Regions from separate parts of the Homo sapiens genome. Here region 2 is linked to region 1. Evidence: promoter capture Hi-C in human tissues and cell types (Jung and others, 2019). All regions are on one chromosome and are shown on one strand. The core of a region is centred on a gene start or on the middle of the fragment in contact, and the rest is flanking DNA. Distances in the headings are between cores, read along the strand shown. Region 1 holds the start of NDRG4 (NDRG family member 4). Region 2 overlaps LOC105371293 (a long non-coding RNA gene).

Region 1 (4,446 bases), core at 340-2,839:
TCATCTCCCAGGATGGGAAGGGCTGGGGCTGGGCCTGGGCGTCACCGGGCTACCTGTCCTACGAAGTCCAGTGACCTTCGCTGAACCCTGCTGCGAACCTCCCTAACGCCTTCTCTCACCCTCTGCGGAGAGCTCAGGACTCAGTTCAGCCTGATCGAAGCCAAACATCCCCGTCCCTTGGAGCGCTGCGCAAGGGCAGCCCCACAAGGGCCACAGCGCGGTGCACTCTGAGGCCCCCAACCCTCAGGGCCGAGCACTCCCATTGGCTCTGGGTGACGTCAGAGCCGGCCCCGCCTCCAGGTAGGCGCAGGCGGGAAGCACTGCGGCAGCAGGGGAGGGGGCTGTGGCGGCTCCTCTCGGTCGGTCCGTCTCCCCTCGCCTGTGACCTTGAGCACTGGAGGGGAGTGGGGCTTTGAGCCGGGCTTTGCGCCGGTGTGGGAGTTGGTGCTGGTGGTGCTGTGGTTCGGCCTGTCAGCCGCATCAATAATTCAGGGGACAGGGTCTGCATGGGCGGGCAGGTGCTGACGTCGTCACCTCCGTGCGTGCGGGGTGACCTATCGTCTGCGGAACCGGCAGGGCAGGCGTGTGGGGCCCGGGGGTGGGGGTGAGTCTGCCCCTGCCTCTCCCTCCTGAGGAAGAATGGGGCCGGGGTACCTGATGCCCCGGCGAGAGGAGGTGCCCTGGGCTCCACCTGGGGTCCCCTAGCCCTGCCAGCTTCACGGCTCCAGCGTTGCCTTCCCCCACCTACAAAATAAGGCAGGCAGGCAACCCCTCCTCGTTCCTCCCCAGCAGGGACCCCTGCCTGAAAGGCTGTCATTCCTGTGTGGCCCAGACCTCCTTGCCTCTGCCCGGCTGGCGCAGCAGAGCCCTGGGAACTGTGAGGTGGCTCCTAAGGAAGAGGCCGCCTGTCCTTCCCATCACACTGGCGCAGCCATCCAAACAAGCTAGACGGCCGCCCACTGGGACGGCAGCCCCTGCACGCACAGACCCGGCACGCACACTGGGCACACAGCCTCGGGGGCTCACCAAGGACACCCCCGCCCCCTGGCCTGATGGCCCCAGGCATCACCAAGGCAGACACCATCCAAGCGCACACCAGAGGGCACACGGTCAGAGGGACATGCAGGCACTAGCGCCCGGGTCCACACGGGCAATGCAGCCAAGTCAGACAGTGCCTTCCACGTTCCATTTCCTGCAGATATGTCACCCACCCCCCAACCACACGCTCCCCCCAGCCCCTGCTATGGGCTCTGACTAGCAGCTGCCCCCAGCCACTCCTGCAAACAGGATCACCAGGGAACCTGGAGCACTCTGGCCGTGTCTCAGTGACCCCAGGGTGAGGCTATTTGAAGGCCGGGCTGCCACCAGATGTGGGTTGAGGGGGGCACTTCCTCCCTGCGGTGGGTCATAAGGATGCACCATCCTCCCGGCCCACCTTGATGCCCGCAGCGCCCTCACTCACCCCATCCCAGCACTCCGGCATCTTGCCGAGGGAGGGAACCCGCCTCTACCAGGAAGGACAAACAAAGGCCTGAGTCACTCGGGTCCAGAGGGCGGGGGCAGCTCGAGTGGGAGATGGTCGGCTCTGTGATGGGGCACAGCTCCTGGGCCATTTATACAGGGATCCTGGCCCAGCCTAGCTAGCCCCTCCTCCCCGCAGGGTTTCTGAGCAGCCACTCGCTTACCAGGAGCCCCAGCTCCCATATTGGCTGCTGGGAGACAAGCCTGGCTCCAATTGGCTTCTGAAGTCCTCCTTGCCCCAGCCCTGTCACTGCTCCTCCCACCCCAGCCACACATCATCCTTGATGGTCCCCAGCCCCTGCATCCGCCCCCAGCACATAGGCACACGCCAACAGCTGCAGCTCACACGGGATCCTCCGAATACAAAAGCCGAGACCACACGTACAGACTCACCCATGTCAGGTACACACAGGGTCGTCACAGACATGCACAGCTTACCAATGCGGGGCAGGGCAGGGTGCATGGGCACTGCCCAGACAGCTAGAGCCCTTGACCCACACCTTGGGGAGTATGGAGGGCCCGAGAGGGCCCCAAGCCCAACATCTTGGGGACCAGACCCCCACGCCCAGCCTTCCCATTAGGAAGGTTCCATCGCTTAACCTTGTGGAGGCCTGGGGAGCTGCTGCTTTCTGGGGCAACTTGGGTTATCACCCTGCTTCAAGGGGCTGCTCCTTCTCCACCCACCAGGGATGAAAATCCCACCTTGCCCACGCAGATACAGGGGGTTTCCCCACATGCTGAAAATGGAGTTTGGGGGCCGGGGGCCAGGGGCCCTGGGCAGATAGCAGGGCCAGGGGTATGGTCAGGCACACACCAGCTCTGCCCTCCCCACCCTCACCCTGCTGCCAGGGGCTCCAGACCACCAGGGAGAGGAAGCGGGGCTAGGAGGCAGCTTGCTGACATTGACATGCCCACCTCCTGTAGACCCACCCGGCCCTCGTTCCCAGAGGCAACCAGTTTGGGGCTTGGCTCTCGGGTCTCTGGGGAGCAGAACACTAGGTCTATCTCAGGCTCCGTGCCCTGTTCTCCTGGGCAGCAAGGATCTGGGTGGCGAGCTCGCCCGAGGCCTGCAGGTGGAGTGAGCAGAGGAGAAGAAAGGCCAAGAAGTGCACAGGAGGAGAGGAAATAGGCCAGAGAGGGAAGCAGAGGAGGGGGCCCAAGGCTGGGAGAGCAGGAGCCACAGAGAGAAGGGGGCTGCTGCGTGCCTATGCTCCCAAATCCATGAAGATTATATGTATTATCGTTGCAACTGCCTGTGCAGTAGGCACTGCTGTTTCTCCCATTTATATATGGAGGCTCAGAGAGGTTGACTGACTTGCCCAAGGTCACACAGCAAAGAAGTGGCAGACCTATGAGTGGGATCAGGGTTTGGCTGGCAAGACCTGACCCTGCCTTGTCTGGCCACGATAACTGCACAACTGCCAGAAAAGGGGCCAACAGTTTGGAGAGGCACACAGACTGCCCCATTTCTCTCCTGCCAGGGCCTGGGCAAGGGTGGGGTCAGGGCACAGAGCCTGAGATAGCCCTAGTGTCCTGCTCCCCAGATACCCGAGAGCCAAGCCCCAAACTGGTTGCCTCCAGGAACAAGGGCCGGGTGGGTCTACAGGAGGTGGGCATGTCAACGTCAGTAGCTGCCTCCTATCCGGCTTCCTCTCCCTGTCTTGCTGAAGAAGGAACACGCCACTCACCCCAGCCCATGCTGATGGCCCTGCATGCTGACTGGCTGCCCTTGGAGAAAGTGGTCATCTCTTCATCTCTGGGTACCTGCTGACCTGGTCGACACCTGCTATGTACACTATTGCTGGTCATGTCCTCTGCCTGGGGGCACCTATTCCATCTCTCACCTCTTACTCTGGAGGCCTAGGGAAGACTGACAGGCCCTGTGCTCCCCAGGGCAGCAGGAAGTAGAATGGGGAGTCCCCCTGGCCCGTCACCTCCTGGCCATGCTCCCCATTCCTGCAGGCACTGTGGCACAGGAAGAGGCTTGGAAAACTGAGGCACAGCCCTGCCCTCTGCCCACAATGCCCTCCCATGTCCCCCAAGGCCCCACCCAATCCTACGCCCACTCCAACCTCTGACCCCTGAGTGGCCTCTCCCCACCTTTGGACCCAGGTGACAAGCTGACCTGCGACACTGCCCACTCCAAGCCACAGCCTCCATGACTGCTCAGCTGTCTGCAAACCCACAGACGTGGGTTTAAGTCCTTCCTGGCCCCCTACCAGCCGGGTGACCTTGGGCAAGATTTTTTTTTTAACCTCTCTGTGTCTCAGGCTTCTAATTGTAAAGCAGGGACTGTGTGCCTTTCTCACCAAGCTGCTGTGAGAATCAGAAAAAACTGCAGAAATCACTCTAGATCTGACCCCACCCCTGCCCAGGTCCTGGCAGGGGAGAAATGAGGCAGCCTGTGTGCCTCTCCAAATTGTTGGCCCTTTTTCTGGTGGTTGTGCAGTTACAGTGGCCAGACAAGGCAGGCTCAGGTCTTGCCAGCCAAACCCAGGTCTTGCCAGCCAAACCCTGGTGCCACTCATAGCTCTGCCACTTCTTTGCTGTGTGACCTTGGGGAAGTCAATCAACCTCTCTGAGCCTCCGTATGTAAATGGGAGAAACAGCAGTGCCTACTGCACAGGCAGCTGCAAGGATAATACATATAATCCTCATGGACCTATGAGAAGGGATGAGGAAACTGAGAGTTGGAGAGGTTAGGTAATTTCCTCACTTGGCTAGTAAGCAGCGGCAGCTACTAGTACCCCAGCACTCTGGGTGGGCCTGAGGTCTCAGAATCAAGAGTGGCAAACACTATGTTCAAATGTCCTCCATGTGCCAGGCTTTCTTGGAGTGCTTTACCCATTCTCTCTATCCCTCTTTTTTTTTCTTCTTCTTCTTTTTTTGGAGACATGGTCTTGCTCTGTTGCCCAGGCTGGAGTG
Region 2 (4,981 bases), core at 834-3,333, 260 kb after region 1:
AACAGAGTGGAGAAGAGGAGGGGAGAAAAGCAAGATGGGAAAAGGAGACTGAGGCTGATCTGAGCTGGTATCTCATCCAGTTATTAATCCTGAAAACCTCCATATCCCAGGGATAGCTCCAGAGACGTGGATCTGAAAAAGGAAATAAACAGACCCTGGCTCAATCCTCAATCAGTAGAGTCTGTCACAGCTGAGCAACATATATCGCTTTAATCGATGTTAAGGAAGAATTGAGTTAGTAAGGAAGAGGGATATTTCAAATATTGGCAAACAAAAAAATAATAGTAATAACAGCAAACATTCGAGTGCTTTGTCCCCTAACCCTGTAAAATAAGTACTATTGTAACCAAGTATCCCAGCCTCAAACTGCGTTTTAAAACATTTTTCCCTTCTTGCTTCCAGCCTTGAAACATACTTTGAAACTTTTTGTTTTGCCTTTTCCCACCAGCCACTTCTATGAACAGTACTCGCTTATCTAATTATGTGCTTGCTTAGAAATTCCAGGGATCGATTTTGAAACAAGCCAGGCAGAGAGACCCAGCTGTGGAACCCTCTGATTAGGGGGAGTTAGGAGCAGTTAGCCCACCACTACCGCAGTCAGCATGATGCAAACCGGTCCTCCAGACAGGCGATGACTCAAGATAACAAGACCTCCTGCTGCACCACTCCCGCGTTTCTCTCACCTTTTTCCTTCTTAAACCCCTTCACTCAGCCCAAAAAGTTAGAATGGTCTTTCAGAGGCATGGGCCTGTCCATTCCCCAACTGCTAGCATTTGAATAAAGTTGCTTTCCTTTCACCACAACTTGCTTCTTGTGTTTTTGGCCTCCAAGCGGTGAGCAGCTGGACTTGGCCAGTTACACTATTACTCACCTCATTTGTATAGGTGAGGAAGTGAAAGCCAGAGAGGCGATGTGAATTACTCAGTCAAACAGCAGGTGACATGCAGAGCTAGAGCCGAAAGCTTGTACCTTTAATCATTACTCATTCCTTTCCATCCCAGTCCTTCTCCTATCCATCCAAAGCCATTCCCACTAAGGTGTTGGAAGAGTTCATTGAGATTACATTTAACCAGGTACCAGGCATGGAGCAAGCTCTGGGTTATTATTTTCCTAGATTAAAGGCCTGACTATGCAAATGTGCATCTCTAAAATGTAAGAAGCTTAGTACATTTTCCTTTGTACTGCCTTCTCTTGATATTTTCCTTTGTAGTGTCTTTCCTTGATCCTGCTCGTCTTCAGAAGTGAGGAGGAGACAGAAAAAATATTTGAAGAAATAATGGCTGAATTTTTCCACATTTGATGAAAATTACAAACCTATAGATCTAAGAAGTTCAACCAACCTCATATAACAATAAACATGAGGAAAATGACACCAAAGATACCATAACTAAATTGCTTACAACTAGGGATAAACAGAAAACCTTAGAAGCAGCCAGGAAAAAAAAAAAAGACACAGTATATACAAAGAATCAAGGATTAAAATGATAGATTTCTTGTAGGTAACAATTCAAGCTGGTAGAGTTCTGAAAGAAAAAAAAAAACACCTGTCAAACTAGAATACTTTACACAGCAAAAATATCTTTTAAAAATAAAGACAAAATAAATATTTTTTTCAGATATTCAAAAGCTTGAAAGAATTTGTTGCCAGAAGAGCTTCACTATACAAGATATGTTAAAGGATGTCCTTCAGGCAGAAAGAAGATGATACCAGATGGAAATCTGGATCAACACAAAGAAATGAAGAGCACTAGAAATGGTAACTAAGTGGATAAGTAAATATATTTCTCTCATTATTTAATTTTCTTTGAAAGATAAATAACTTTATATAACAAAAATTATGTATTGTAGAGTTTACAACATTTACATTGTAGCTAAGCACGGTGGCTCATGCCTGTAATCCCAGCACTTTGGGAGGCAGAGGCCAGTGGATCACTTGAGGTCAGGAGTTTGAGATCAGCCTGACCAACATGGTGAAACCTTGTCTCTACTAAAAAAAATATGAAATTAGCCGGGCGTGGTGGCACATACCTGTAATCTCAGCTACTTGGGAGTCTGAGGCAGGAGAATTGCTTGAACCCAGGAGGCAGAGGTTGCAGTGAGCCCAGATCGGGCCATTGCATTCCAGCCAGGGTGACAAGAGCAAAAAACTCCATCTCAAAAGAAAGAAAGAAAGAAAAAAAAAACATTTACATTGTAGAGTTTATAAGTGAAATGTATGACAATGATAGTAGAGGAGAAATGGGAGTGTGATGGTATAAAGTTCTTATACTATACATAAAGTGGTATAATAACACTTGAAGATAGACTGTACTAAGTTAAAGAAATGTACCATAAACCCCAAAGCAATGACAAAAATGACACAGCAAAGACATAAAACTAAAAGAGTAGCTTTAACTCTAGACTGAATGTCTAGACAATGTGGTAGACAGAACAATGGCCCGCAAAGATATCCAGGTTCTAATCATTGGAACCTATGAATATTACCTTGTAAAGGGGGAAAAGGTCTTAACAATTTTAGCGATTAAGTTAAAGGTCTTAAAATGGAGTGGTTATCCTGGATTATGTAAGTGGGCCCTAAAAGCAATCACAAGTGTCCTTACAAGAGGGAGGCAGAAGGAGATTCTACTACAGAAGAGAGAAAGCAATGTGACAACCTCAGCAGAGAGAGACTTGAAGATGCTATGCTGTGGACTTTGAAGATGGAGGAGAGGGCCTAGGAGCCAAGGAATGCAAGGAATGAAGCTCTAAAAACTGGAGAATTCTCCCCTTAAGCCTCTAGAGAAAATACAGCCCTGCTGAGTGAGACCCATTTTGGACTTCTGGCCTCTGGAACTATAAGAGAATAAATTTGTGTTGTTTTAAGCCACAAAGTTTGTGGCAATATATCACAATAGCCTATGAAACTAATACAGCTAAGTCAACAAAGGAGATAAAGTGGAATTATAAAATATTCGAATGGATCCAAAAGAAGGCAGAAAAAGGGAAATATAAACAAAAAGAACAAATAGAAGCAAGGCAATAAAGAAAAAATAGATAAGTTGGACTTATTAAAAACTTTTGTGCTTCATAGAACACCATCAAGAAAGTGAAAAGACAATCCACAGAATGAGAGAAAAATTGCAAATCATATATATGATGAGAGATTTATATCCAGGATACATAAAGAACTATTATTACAACTCAATAATTAAAAGATAAGCAAATAGGCCAGGCTCAGTGGCTCATGCCGGTAATCCCAGCACTTTGGGAGGCTGAGGCGGGCAGATCACTTGAGGTCAGGAGTTCAAAACCAGCCTAGCCAACATGGTGAAACCCTGTCTCTACTAAAAACACAAAATTTAGCCAGGTGTGGTGGCGGACATCACTTGAACCCGGGAGGCGGAAGTTGCAGTGAGCCGAGATCACGCCATTGCATTCCAGCCTGGCAACAAGAGCGAAACTCCGTCTCAAAAAAGTAATAAATAAATAAGCAAATGATTTGAATGGACATTTATCCAAAAAAGATATACAAGTGATCAATAAGCACATGAAAAGATGCCCAACATCATTAGTCATCATGGAAGCATAATATATAATAGAACATATAATATATAATTAAAAAGACAGATAAAAACAAGTATCAGTAAGAATGTGGAGAAATTGGAACCCCCATAAACTGCTGGTGGGAATGGAAAATGGTGCAGCTCCTTCAGAAAACAAAGTTTGGTTGTTACTAAAAGGCTAAACATAGAGTTACCATGTGATCCACCAATTCTACTCCTAGTATATACTCAAAAGAAATTAAAACACATATCCATGCATGAACTTGTACATGAATGTGCACAGTGGTATTATTTAAACTAACCAAAAAGACACAAATGCCTATCAACTGATGAGCAGATGAACAAATGTTGTATCTATAAAATGTAATATTATTTGGCAATAAAAAACGAATGAAGTATGGATACATACAACAAGGACAAAGCATGAAAACATTACGATAAGTAAAAAGAAAGAAAATCACAAAGGACCACATATTGTATGATTTTATGTATATGAAATGTCAAAAATAAGCAGATACATGGAGACAAGAAATAGATTAGTGGTTGTTTATGGCCGGGATAGGGAAAATGAGGGATAAGTGATGAATAAGGCATGTGGAGTTTCTTCTGGGGTAAGAAAAACGTTCTACAATTGACTGGGGTGATAGATGCACAACTTTTGAATATAGTAACAGTCACTGAATTTACTCTTTAAGTGGGTGAATTGTTAAGTATGTGAATTATATATCAATAAAGCTGTTTTTAAAAAAGAATAAGTAGAAAATATCAAGATGGTAGATTAAAATCCAACCATATCAATAATTACACCAAAGGGAATTGGTCTAAACATTCTGATTAAAAGGCAAAGGTTATCTGATTGAATAAAAAAGCAAAACCTAAATACATGCTGCCTATAAAAAATACACTTTAAATATAAAGACACAAGTGGGTTAAAAGTAAAAGGGAAAAAGATGCAAACACTAGTCAAACAATAATACAAACACCAAAGAAAGGTGAAGTAATTATGTTAATATCAGACATAGTAGATTTCAGAGCAAAGGATATTACCTGTAATAAACAGGGTCAGTTTATAATAATAAAGGGATGAATTCATAAAGACATGATATTTATGCATCCAATAAGACAGCTTCAAAATCCATGAAGCAAAAACCAATAGAACTGCAAGAAGAAACAGACAGACGAATTCACAATTAAAGACTTCAAAGATATCAACACCAATCTCTCAAAAATTGATAGGCTAAATGGACATAAAAATAAGTAAGGAAATAGAAGATTTGAGCAGCTTTATTAACTGAAGTGTCCTAACGGACATTTCTGAAACACTCCACCCAACAACAGCAGAACTCACATTCTTTCCAAGTGCACACAGAACATTACTAAGAAGACCATATTCGTTAAACAATAAATTTCAATACATTTAAAAGTATTTGCCATACAAA

The links. Contacts are between HindIII fragments. The study calls those that stand out against the background at their distance.
Region 2: a contact is called between a fragment that was not itself captured here and the fragment with the promoter of NDRG4 in region 1, in 1 of the 25 tissues and cell types used here (aorta).

The regions. Positions count from the first base shown.
Region 1 is chr16:58,497,286-58,501,731 of GRCh38, reverse strand. NDRG4 (NDRG family member 4) reads right to left here and starts at 1,589. Exons shown (of 15, transcript NM_001242835.2): 1 at 1,463-1,589. The coding sequence starts at 1,483. RefSeq lists enhancers at 1-96, 97-914, 915-1,731 and silencers at 1,611-1,670, 1,681-1,760. The HindIII fragment of the contact is 53,618 bases long and covers 1-4,446 here.
Region 2 is chr16:58,239,545-58,244,525 of GRCh38, reverse strand. LOC105371293 (a long non-coding RNA gene) reads left to right here. Exons shown (of 4, transcript XR_933630.2): 3 at 1,617-1,756. Among named protein-coding and RNA genes, the nearest start is that of CFAP263, 7.9 kb to the left of the region's middle. RefSeq lists an enhancer at 959-1,018. The HindIII fragment of the contact is 3,325 bases long and covers 421-3,745 here.